Regions from separate parts of the Homo sapiens genome. Here all the other regions are linked to region 2. Evidence: promoter capture Hi-C in 16 types of primary human blood cells and fetal thymus (Javierre and others, 2016). All regions are on one chromosome and are shown on one strand. Each heading gives the region's core, a stretch centred on a gene start or on the middle of the fragment in contact. The rest is flanking DNA. Distances are from core to core; before and after follow the strand shown. Region 1 overlaps LOC100506023 (a long non-coding RNA gene). Region 2 holds the start of KLHL20 (kelch like family member 20). Region 3 overlaps PRDX6-AS1 (PRDX6 antisense RNA 1).

Region 1 (4,174 bases), core at 943-3,442, 300 kb after region 2:
CTTAGAATGGGGCGTGAGGACTGCAGGGCTATGCTGCTGGGCGCCGGCTGCTGCTGCTCGCTCCTCTGACCCTGTGAACACTGGCCTGCTGTGACACTGCTGGACTAGACTCTTCTATGACCAAGTCCTCCACACCGATGTGCCCTGTGGTCTCTGTGATTCTGGAGCGCTGCTGTCTCCTTGGCTGAGCTTAGATCATGAACACTGGCATTTTCAGCACTGAGAGTGGGAGGCAACTCTGCCTCCTGTCAAGATTCATAAGGTGGGGAACTTCCCCAAACAATTAAAAGCAGGCTCAAAATGCCAGATGGTCAAAAAGAATAACAAGTTCCCCCACAGATACAGGGAAACCTTTCAGAACCCCCACATAGGAAGTGCAGCTTCACTCACAGGAGTGAGAACAAAGAATTGGAAAGCCGACGGCTGGTTACTCTGCATCTCTCTGCCCCTGTCTCTCTGTCTCTGTGTCTCTGTCTTTCTCTCTCTCCTATATTTTCCAGCTCCACTTGCTAAAGGTAAGGCCCACCTCTGTCCTGACCATTAGAAATTAGTTGTCTCCCTTAGAACATCTTTTTCCTCATCTTCTGCAAATACTTTTCAATCCCCCTTGGAGATTCCCTCCTCTGTCCATTTTTGGTCTGGGTGGGCTCCATCCTCAGCCCTCAGGATGGGCCATAGGACCCCGTCCCAAGCCAATCAACACACTATTCCCTTGGATGCAGGAGTGAGTATGTGACCTAAACAGCCTCGATTCCCACCCCCTTTTTTATTGAACTCAAACTTATCTGTTGCAAAGTGTACAAAGTATACAACTTGATGAATTTTACATAAAATCCGTTGTATACATCTGTGGAATCATTACTGAGATTGAGATACTGATCATTTCCATCAGCCCAGCACCTCCCCTTGTAGTCCTTCTCTGTAATACTCCACTCAAAGATAATCACTATTCCGACTTCTGTTACCATTAATGGAAATTTTACCCATTTTTAAATTCTATATGAATGGAATAATATGTAATCTTTGGTGGCTGGCTGTTGATCTTTCTGTTACTGACTTGCAGCAGTTCTTTATTTTGGATATGAGTCCTTTGCTAAATACATATATTGCAAATATATTTTCTTAGCTCATAGTTGCGTTTTGACTCTCCTAACGATGTCTTTTTAGGAATATTAGTTCAAATCGCTAGTCTTTCCTATGGTTAATGCTTTTAATTTGTTCTATTTAGAAAATCTTTTAATGCTTTTAATTTGTTCTGTTTAGAAAATCTTTGCACACTCTGAGATCATGCGCAAGTTAATGACTTTGAAGGACGAAGAAGTAAAATGTTTTTGTTGCATTTGAGATTGTGAGGCAGTGAGGCTGAGCCAGAAACGAAGACAGAAAGCAGATAGACTTGTAGGGCTGGCCTTGAGATGGGGCACTGTCACAGGGTGAGTCTGAGCTTTGCAGGCACTGTCTATTTACTATAGTTGTGGCTGAAATCAGAGGCAGGCCAAGTGGATGAGACATGGGGCAGTTGACCTCAGAAGAGATTCCTTTAACTATTTCCTTTTTTTTTTTTTTTTTCTTGAGATGGAATCTTGCTCTGTTGCCAGGCTGGAGTGCAATGGCGCAATCTCAGCTCACTGCAACCTCCGCCTCCCAGGTTCAAGCAATTCTGCCTTAGCCTCCTGAGTAGCTGGGATTACAAGCGCCCACCACCATACCCAGCTAATTCTTTGTATCTTTAGTAGAGACGGGGTTTCACCGTATTGGCCAGGCTAGTCTCGAACTCCTGACCTCGTGGTCTGCCCGCCTCGTCCTCCCAAAGTGCTGGGATTACAGGCATGAGCCACTGCACCCGGCCAACTATTTCCTTTTTAAAATTTTTTTATTTTTATTTTTTGAGAGAGTCTCACTCTTTGGCCAGGCTGGAGTGCAGTGGTGTGATCTTGGCTCACTGCAACCTCTGCCTCCTGGGTTCAAGTGATTCTCATGCTTCAGCCTCCTGAGTAGCTGGGATTACAGGTGTGTGTCACCATGTCCAGCTAATTTTTTTGTATTTTTAGTAGAGATGGAGTTTTGCCATGTTGGCCAGGCTGGTCTCAGACTCCTGGCCTCAAGTGATCTGCCCACCTCAGCCTCCCAAAGTTCTGAGAATACAGGAGTGAGCCACTGCACTCAGCCTAACTATTTCTTGATCAAATATTTTATTGAGCTCTTCTGCTGCAAGATGACATCCTCATGGAATTTATATTCTAGAGGATTTTAGAGATTATTTTAAAATACCTTCTTATAGTCCAGATTAGGAAGCCAAGGTGAAGACATGAAAAATAATTTGCTTGTCATCACAGAGCTAGGGAAGAAGCACAGCTAAACCAGAACTACAGCTGGAACCCAGGTCTCCTGGATTGAACTGTCCCCGCCCCTGCCCCTGCCCCTGACACTAGTCCAGCAAAGAAAGACCTGAGGGGTGCTGGTGATGAGTGATGACTGCTCTGCCTCAGGCTGAAGATAGAAGCAGCCTATCTCAGGTGGGTGGAAATTTTCCTTTCTTCCTTTGACCATGGGCAAAGTGATATGCCCTGGTCCGCAGCAACAGAGACTTCAGGAAGCCCACACACGTCAAGCGGCCAAAGCGGACCAGTGTCAGCAGGGGGAAATCAGAGGGACTTCCCCCAAGTCCTTCCTGTCAAAGAAAGAAGCATGAGAGGCCTTCATGAAGGTGAAAACCACACATTAAGGACTAGTCCAGACTGGGTACATGTCTCCCCAGTGCAGCTGCTACCCCTTGGGTTTTACCCCAGGACACTGGGTTCCGTCCTGTCATGGTGGTCAGTGCTGGAAAGTTGGGGTTTAAAGCTGTACACAGAGCTTCAGGCAAGTCCTAGGCCAAAGTTCAGTCCAAGGAGCACCAAGGTCTTCTCACTAGCAGCAGGTAGGAAATGATGGACATTGGATGATAACCTGGAGGCCAGTGACATGGTGAGACCACTTCTGACTCCCTCATTTCCCATCTCTGACATCACATCTCCACCACGTGGGCTCACTTAGACATGCTCACAACTATTAAGGTACCACTGGGGGCTTCCTATGACCAAGTCCCTTTAAATGTCTTTTGAATGTTCCCTCCCATTGTGAGAGGAAGGTAGTAATAAGGTGGTACCAAAATAGAATCTTGACACCCATTTACAACTTTTATTTGAGAAGAAGAAATGGGGAGTTGATGAGTGAGTATACGGAGAACCAGTGAGTGAGTGAATGTATATATGTATCTATTTACTTTCCTGGGCCCCAGTAACCTTATTCCTTGAATTCTTGTTGAACCGCAAATTTAGAGCTTCTTTGTAGGTTAGTCTGGTGATTCACTGTTGGTTTGTGGGTGTCAGACATGCAACTGTGACAGCTGTCATCATCTTCTGTTTATGCTGGATTGTGGACTTCTTAAGATCAAGGCCTGTGTCTTTTTTTATTTTTTATTTTTAAATTGAGGCAGTGTCACACTCTGTCACCCAGGCTGGAGTGCAGTGGTGCAATCACGGCTCACTGTAGCCTCAACCTCCAAGGCTCAGGTGATCCTCCCGCCTCATTTTTTGATTTTTTGTAGAGATGAGGTCTCACTATGTTGCCCAGGCTGGTCTCAAACTCCTGGGCTCAAGTGATCCATCCACCCTGGCCTTCCAAATTGCTGGGATTGTAGGTGTGAGCCACTGCACCTGGTTTTTTAAAAAATTTAAGTTTATGTTTTATTGAAGTATAATATGTATACAGAAAAGAGTACAAACCTTGAATGCAGCAGGAGGGTGTACATGTACATAAAGGACTTACACCCGTGCACTCAGAGCCTAGATCAGGAAGCATGGAGAGCTGCGGGAGCTCCTCAGGGCTTACTGCCAGCCACCACTTCCCCTTCATCCTCCTGCCAGCGTAACCACTGCCTGCACTTCTCACACTGTAGATTAGATTTGCATGTGGGAGTCATATTTTTATGCCAGAAAAGAATACTTGATTTTTAAGAAAAAATCACTAAAAGCAAATGTCCTTCAGGGAATACACAATAGTTCAGTTATAAATTCTGTAGTCTTGGGCTTTACCTTAAAAAGTTTGATGACTTTCAATTTAATTTTTTCTTCTTATTTTGAAATAATTTCAATCCTAAAGAAAACTGGCAAGAATAGTATAATGACTTTTT
Region 2 (3,998 bases), core at 77-2,576:
AAAAGGAAAATTTAAGTGTTTAGCACTACATACAATCCACAGCACTTTTCAGAAACAACTTCTGTATTTTATTCTATTAAAAAGCTATTAATTCTTAATATTACTTTTGATTTATTGTAGAACAAGACTCATTAGTTCCAAGCAGAATTTAGTAAGATTGAAACTCTTTTTTAAAAATTTAAATTATTACATGCTGAATTTTAATCAGTGAAACCAAAGGTTTTCTTCCTAAATGCCTACCTGCGCATTGGCTTTCCTTCCATGCACCATGAAAAGTACCCTTCACCACACTCTAAAGCCGAACCTAAGACAACAGAAAAGCAGGAACTTAATAAAAGCTATTTCTGATCTTTACAGTAACAATCTTTATATAATCATTTCACTCATTTCGTCAGTTATCAAGAGTTTCATATCCTATTATACCACAGGCCTTCTGCAGATGCACAATAACTTAATCTAGTACATTTAAGATTACCATCCTTACTCTGCATGCTAAAACGATTAAAGTAAAGGTGAGGGAAAGTATGCTAAATAGTCCCGACTGTTAGGTCAGTCTTGTTTCTCTTCAAAAAGTGCTTGGAGATATTTAACTGTGATCTCGACATCAAGTATATTTACAGAACAAGCACCAGATACCCACAGCAGTACTAACCTGATAGATCACATAGGGTACACGAGGCTTTAATAACGAATCTGAAGATTGTTAACTTGTCCCGAAGTGACAGGAGGAGGAGGCGTCTGCATTTGCCTTTACAAACAACTCCGCTTCCGACAGTCCAGGGAGCTTGAACAGGGCAGGGAAAGTATGGCTCCAGACTAACACTCTTTACAAGCATTTCCTTCAGTCCCCGATACAATGTTCACTACCCACGTAGCAGGATTTCGCCAGGTCCCGAGGGTTAAATGGGGGCGCACGTACTTTCTTCCTTCCCTGAATTCCAAACACTGTCTGGGGAAGCTGTCCAGGATGCGAAACCCCAGCACCACCAGGCAGGACAAAGCCCGGGGCCTCCTCTGGCTCCCGAGATAGGCTGTCAGCCAGCGAGAGCGCACTCTGGCGCTCCGCGAGGCCCGGCCCCAGCGCCCCAACAGTCTCTTCTCGGCGCCGACTGACAGGCGACCGACCTGACCCCATGGGGCAGCTCAGCAACTTGGGACCACATATCTGCGAAGCGAGCCCTGGGGCGCTGTCCGCTGTCCCCTGCTCTAAGGTGACTGGCTCACTTACCGGCTCTGACACTTTCTTCTCTGCAGCAGCCTCCTCCGTCTACTCCGCCCTCCACTCCTCTCTGCCTCCTCCTCCACCGCCGCTAACGCAGGCAGGATGCCGCTCGTAGAGCTATTTCCTTTCCCTTCACCGGCCCATATCCAGAAGCAGGAAGTAGTCCTATTCTTAAATCGTTCCCGCAGGAACCCACATAATCCGCCAAGGGGTTCCGGTGCGGCTCCGGAAGTAGTCGTGCCCTTTGCTGGGGCATTCAGGTAACCTCAGAGGTTGTTTATCCTCGTGGGGGTTCCTTGTATCCCAAGAGTAACCATTTTTAGAATTCACTGCGGAACTGGCAGTATTTGAATACTGAAGCCTCCTCTTTTCTTCTTTGTTTTCGCCAGCAAAGGCAGTAAAGGGTAGTCACAGAAAGCTAAGAATTTGTATTTCTTTTTAGTTGGTGGGTCTCCTTTTGGCACAATGTTCCTAATTGTGGATTGAATTATTGCATGCACACATGGGTTGGCATGTATCTGTCAGGCCTCTACTATGTGCAAGGTGCAGAAGTTAGATAGACAGACCAGAGATAGACCTTATCCTCCAGATTTCCCACGGTCAAACTTTCAGGACACCAGGATTTTATCCAGGCTCTAAGGCTGTGTTAGTCTGCCCTTTCTACTTAGTATTCACCACCAGACACTTCACCAAACACATCTTCTGTGGATTCACTTTAATGTTAAGGAGGGAAGAGTATATTTTCTTAAAAAAATTTTTTTTCAGTAGCAAGCAGAGCCAAAAAAGTATATTTTTAAAATTATCTTTTCCTCCAGATTTTCCCATAGCACACAGCCACCTGATTTTTACCGTATATTAATATTTAGAAAACAAGTGATACAAGTGTAAGGTGGGGATTACAATTTCAGGAATATCAGAGAAAGACTGTTGCTGATTTCCTGGTAAGTATACTAGGCTAAGTATTAACCAGATTTTCTTTAGCTGTTCTTTATGTAGAATCTACACAGGTGTGTCCAGTTGTTTCTGAGGGGAAAGGATACCTCTTGTTAATTAGCTTGTAGTGGAAAATACATGGCCTTTAGATCCAGATATAGTGGCCCAGTGGATTCTTCTTGCCTGCTGCCCAGATACAGATGATTTATCAAGGTATAGGGATTGCAATGGAGAAAGAGTTTTACACAACATCGAGTGGAAAAATGGAAGAAGTTTTATTATTACTCAAATCAGTTATATTATTACTCAAATCGGCCTCCTGGAGCATTTGGGGGCTAGGTTTCTTTTCAAAGGTAGTCTGGGGAAAGGGGTAGGGGTGGCTAGGCAATGGGTGCTTGCTGCTGACTGGTGCAGTCATAGGGGTATGGGAGATGGTCCTCCTGCCTACTGAGTTGTTTCTGGGTGGAGCCACAGGAACAGTTGGTGGGTCCAGGTGGAGCCATCAGTAGTCAAACATGCAAAAAACTTAAAAATATACCCAAAAAGGCCAATCCTAGATTCTACAATAGTGATGTTATCTGTAGGAGTAATTGGGGAAGTTGCATATCTTGTGACCTCTGGAATAATGGCTGGCAATCACTTATGTCTACACTTAACAGAATTCAGGCTCATCTATCCCCGTTGTCTGGTGGTCTCTCATTAGCTTTACAAAGGCAATTGAGTTTTGGGGAAGGACTGTAATTATTTAAACTATTAAACTAAATGTCTCCCAAAGTTATCTTGGCTTAAGCCCAGGAATAATTAAGGACAGACTGAAAGCTAAAGGCAAGATGGGGTTTGGCTAGATCAGATCTCCTCCACTGCTATAATTTTCTCACTGATAGAATTTTTGCAAAGGGGGTTTCAGTTTGCAAAGGCGATTTCACGGATACACATAGGTACAAATCCTAGACCTGTAACTGACTAGCTTTGTGATCTTATTGAAAATTTTTACTGCATGTGTATATGTGATATATATACATATGCAGTAAAATGATTTCTTTTCCATATTTTAAAACTTTTCATAAATGGTATCAAAGCATATGTATTCTTTTGCAACTTCCATTTTCCACTCAACATTCTGTTTGTAAGATTTGTCCATGTTGATCAATGAAGGTCCAATTCAGTGATTCTCAAAGTGTTGTCCTGGACCAGCAGCATCAACATCACTTGGAAAATGCTAACCCTTGAGCCCCATTACAGACCTATTGAATCAAAAACTGAAGGTGGGCCCCAGTAATCTGTGTTCTAACAAGTTCTCCAGGTGATTATAGTGCATGGTAAAATTTGAGAACTACTGCACTAATTTATTTATTTTCACTGCTTTATAGTATTCTATTATATGAATATACCATAGATTTTTTAAAACATTTTTTTCTGCAGATGGATATTTTGACTATTTCCAGTTTTCTCCATTACAAACAGTGCTACAATGTAAATTCTTGCATATACCTCCTTGTGTACACCTGTAGGTGTTTCTTTGGGGTGTGCACGCAGAAGCAAAATTGCTGGGTTGTATGCTATGCACAGCTTCAACTGTATTAGCACTAGTCAAATTGCTCTCTAAAGTCATTATTCTATTTCAGTAATAATAATACTAGCAAATACTTATGTAGCATGTTATAGTAACTCATCAATACTCACACTAGTCCTCTCGAGGTAGGATCTATTATCATCATTCCAGTTTCACAGATGGCACCAAGATGTTATGTAAGTTGCCCAAAGTCACACAGCTAGTTATGAAGTAGAGCAATAACTTGAAACCATACACAATGGCTCTAGAGTCTGTGCTTTCAGCTACAGT
Region 3 (4,018 bases), core at 1,024-3,523, 280 kb after region 2:
AGCCTCCCTAGTAGCTGGGACTACAGGTGCACACCATCATGCCTCGCTAATTTTTTGTATTTTTAGTGGAGATGGGATTTCACCATGTTGGCCAGGCTGGTCTCAAACTCTTGAGCTCAGGCAATCCGCCCACCTTGGCCTCCCAAAGTGCTGGGATTATAGGGCTTGAGCAATGGTAAGGGAGGGGAGCTATAAGGAAGGAGAGGAAGTGAGATTGAGGTAGAAACTAGGAAAAGCAAAGAGAAGGGAGGGGAAAAAGGATGAAAAAGAAGAAAAGGGTGAGAAGTAAAAGAAGCAAGTAGGGAGGAAAAGTTTGGAGAGGGTGGATAGGAGAAAAAAGTGGACTGTGGAATGGAAGATGAGGAGCCTGCTGGGCTTTGGGGTGAGTGTGGTGGTTGGAGTTGAACTGTTTTGGTTTCCTTGGGCACAGGCCCTGAGAGGAGGTTACCCCTGCTCTGACTGCACTCAGAGGTTTAGTAACAATAATATTCTAAGCTTTTATTTTTATTTCCATCTTTATTGTCTATTTTTGACAATCAGAATATTTTCTACTGGGATTTTAAACATCTTCACCTTGCGACAAAATTACTTAGAACTAAAGATTTAGAAATTTAGTGATTAATATTAGATTGTATTAATATGTATAGCCTGTATTTTGCTTTGATGGATTTTAAACCTTACAGATTGCATTAATTATTTTTAGGAAAGATTGAGAATGTGTCATTTCATAATGTCTAGATATTGCATCTTATTAAAAAATAAACCTATTTTTAGTCTACGTAGGAGCTGGTATGAGGATCACACAATGCAAGCAAATAAAATGAGAAAAGATGATTCAACAAGAGGCTTCACTGATTTACTGTTTAACTGCTTTGACCAAAGTGCTTGGTTCTTATATGAATAAGAAAGGGGATGAGTTATCCACCAGAATGAAAGTTATATTCTGGTTTGAAGCTTCTGCTGTCAGATAATATAGTTTTCTATAGTGTGGAAGAACAGCATCATCTTCAAGCAAGGTGGAATTAAGCATGGACAGAACTGTGTTTCTCACCCAGGAGGAGGGTAGGTTTTTTTTTCTTTTTTACTTCTTAAAACTTATTTTAATATTATTCTTCCCTCCCCCACCCCATTGGGAAAAGGCTAAAACAATCTGGATGGGTTTAATTAGAAATTAATACATACTGTCATTGTATAAAGTAAATCAACATTGTGGCAACAAGGGACTATTCTTGGAAAAAGTGAAACCCATATTAACAAAATATGTCATGGAAGATCCCCACATAGTGATTTCACTGGCTGCCTGAAAGACAGACAGTGTAAAGGTCGATGTTCTGCATGTTCTCTGGGGCTTGTCCATGCAACGGAAGAAGGTCTTTCCCAGACTCAGCCAAGCCTAGTTAGCTCCAACCAGGCCCTAGACCAAAAGCAAGGGAAGAGCACATCCTTTCAATAGAATAAGGGTAGAAAGGGATTCTCTGAATGTAGTAACTATGAAGCTATGCCAAAGGTAGGCAGAAAATGGGCTTGGGAGCCAGACACTCCAGGGTTCAGTAGTTCCTACCCACAGTCTTTGTGTGCTTGCTAAATGGTGTACATTTCTTGTTAACCACGTTATTAAAACTTGATCAGCATGTAAGCTTTCTTCTGTTAGATCTTTTGGCAGCAAACAACCTTCCCCCCAAGCCTCTGAATTTTGGAGGAGGGTAGGCTTGATGAATTGTTTAGAAATTTTGTGTTTGGTGGTGGCAGGAGGGGAGGGATCATGCGGCCTTCTGGTCACAAGCAAGCCTGCAGAAGATTCAGTGGCCTTTCCAGTTGACTTAGACAGCCTGTGTCCCTGGTGTCACTGACTGGCACCTATAGCAATACTTGGTGTTATTTAGCTTCTTGTCACATACAACTTTCTTCTCTTCTTTCCTTCAATTGTCCCTTTCCTCCTGACTTCTGTGAGGGATAGCAGGATTGAGGCCACAGGCTGCCACTCAGGGCATTCACTCTCTGATAAGAGTCAGTAAGGCAGAGCCACTGGTGCCCCCTGAACCCCTGCTGCAGGTGGGCAGAGGCTGGGCTGCTAGTGTGGTATCCAAAGGACAGTAGCTGTGCTCACTATGGCAGAGTCTAATTTTGAGATGTTGGGGATTCTGGAGAAGAAACATTTTGTGTGCTGCTGAGTCATTAGGAATTGACCATTATAGGTAGTAAATAGCAGAACAGAAGAAAGAAACAAGACTGATCATGAAATAATTGGAGCGAGGAGTTCTGCTGACTGTAACAATGTAAGACATTTGCATGTACATTGTGTGGTTGATTAGGAAAGAAGCTCTTTGTTCTGAAATGTCTTCATCAGTGAAAGTTGAAGAGATATGCTCAGCTGGGATACAGTGAACTCAATCTACTCCTCCAGGACTGGATCTGCAGAACTCAGATCTACCTTCCATGACAGCTTCTGGCCGTTGGCATACAGAGCTCTCCTCTCTCTCTGCACGTAGCTTGTCACTCACTCAGCTTGTATTGATGGGGTGGGGCAGTCTCAGATTGTTTTATAGGTGCAATTATTTAACTTCTTTAGATGAGGGTTGTGCTTTATGTTACTCTCTGAAGCCTCATTTATTTGCCACATGGTGGGTACATGAAGATACATGCTAAATGAAAGTTGTGCAAAGAGCTCTGAACTTGGAGGCAGATGACCTTGGACTTTTACTCAGTCTGTGTTACACATGAGCTTGGATAAGACTGATCTTTCAGCTTTCTTCAGACCTTAAGCATGAGATATAAAACAAGTAGAACATATAAATAAATAGAAGAAAATATACACAAATATTACATGATCTTTGAATTGTAAGACTCACTAAGCATAAATGCCACTGAAGAAACCACAAAGAAGAGATTTGCCAGTATGGAAAGCTTTTTAATTCTATATATCAGAAAATATAATAAAATTAAGAGGCAAATGACCTATTGAGAAAAATACTTCTACTTGGTAAGTCGAAGTATAGAAAATAAGCAAAAGATACAGTTCACAAAGAAAAAAATACAATCAGCTGATAAATATATGTGGTCAAAGAAGTACACTTTAAATCTACAGTGAGATACTTTTTAATCAGCTCAAATTTTCAGGGGGACCCATTCAGTCTTATATGATGCTGGTGGAAGTGGAAATTTCCTGGAGCAGTGTGTATTAAGAGCCATAAAAATGCTATTTCCTTGAAGTTAACAAGAAACTTGCTAGACCTGTATGAAGGATGCCAACTTAAAACAATTTATAAAATGTATTTATTTATTTTTTTCATGTTGTATAGGTTTTAATGTTTTTGAAACAAAATTAACCCATGGTAGACTTTGGTGGACAATGTGAGTCTTCTACCTAGATACTCTCTAATTTAGTCAGGGTTTAATTAAAGAAATAGAAGTACTAGGATAAAAATGTATTTGTTTTTACTGGGGGACATACCATGTTTCTGAATGGAAAGATTCAGTTTTGTAGGTATACAAATTTTCCCAAATTAATATTTAAGTTTAGTGCAATTCCAATAAAAAATTCTAGTGGGATTTTATTGGGGAGGGGCAGGTGTGATGGGAATTGATGATGTGATTTTAATTTTTCTTTTATGTTCTGAGTAAAACATTTTCTTGGGGTGCAGAAAATTTTATGATGGAAGAATAAGAAAACTAAGAATATTTTGAATAGGAACAATAAGTAGGAAAAATGTTTGCAATGGGATATTAATATGTATTATAAACCCACAGAATCTGAAGACAAGAGTGATGGACTGTATATAGATGGAACAGAATAGAGTGACCACATATGAACCCTAGTGTATGTGGGAATTTAGCATGTGATAAAAATGAAGAAAAATACAGTGAGGCAAAAGGTGGTTTTGGGTCAATTGAGAATCAGTTTGGGAAAAAGTAACAATAGATTTTTACCTAAAAGAGTACAAGAAAACAAATTCCAAATGGAATTAGTTAAATGTGGGAGAAGGACACTAAAAAACTTGAAAATAAAGATGAATGCCTA

Evidence for each region. Contacts are between HindIII fragments. The CHiCAGO score rates a contact against its expected background, and 5 or more counts as called.
Region 1: a fragment that was not itself captured here is called in contact with the fragment with the promoter of KLHL20 in region 2 in 2 of 17 cell types (neutrophils and M1 macrophages); the score reaches 6.3 in neutrophils.
Region 3: a fragment that was not itself captured here is called in contact with the fragment with the promoter of KLHL20 in region 2 in 13 of 17 cell types (megakaryocytes, M1 macrophages, naive CD8 T cells and 10 more); the score reaches 9.2 in megakaryocytes.

Annotation. Positions count from the first base shown.
Region 1 is chr1:173,409,513-173,413,686 of GRCh38, reverse strand. The region is part of intron 2 of LOC100506023 (a long non-coding RNA gene); the gene reads left to right. It also overlaps a transcript of TNFSF4 not described here. Among named protein-coding and RNA genes, the nearest start is that of PRDX6-AS1, 50 kb to the left of the region's middle. RefSeq lists an enhancer at 2,439-2,988. The HindIII fragment of the contact is 6,231 bases long and covers 1-4,174 here.
Region 2 is chr1:173,712,309-173,716,306 of GRCh38, reverse strand. KLHL20 (kelch like family member 20) reads right to left here and starts at 1,326. Exons shown (of 12, transcript NM_014458.4): 1 at 1,229-1,326; 2 at 241-304. The coding sequence starts at 263. It also overlaps a transcript of ANKRD45 not described here. RefSeq lists enhancers at 783-1,152, 1,233-1,422. The HindIII fragment of the contact is 9,904 bases long and covers 1-3,998 here.
Region 3 is chr1:173,437,507-173,441,524 of GRCh38, reverse strand. The region is part of intron 1 of PRDX6-AS1 (PRDX6 antisense RNA 1); the gene reads left to right. All of the region lies in intron 2 of LOC100506023 (a long non-coding RNA gene), which reads left to right. It also overlaps a transcript of TNFSF4 not described here. Among named protein-coding and RNA genes, the nearest start is that of PRDX6-AS1, 22 kb to the left of the region's middle. The HindIII fragment of the contact is 1,267 bases long and covers 1,640-2,906 here.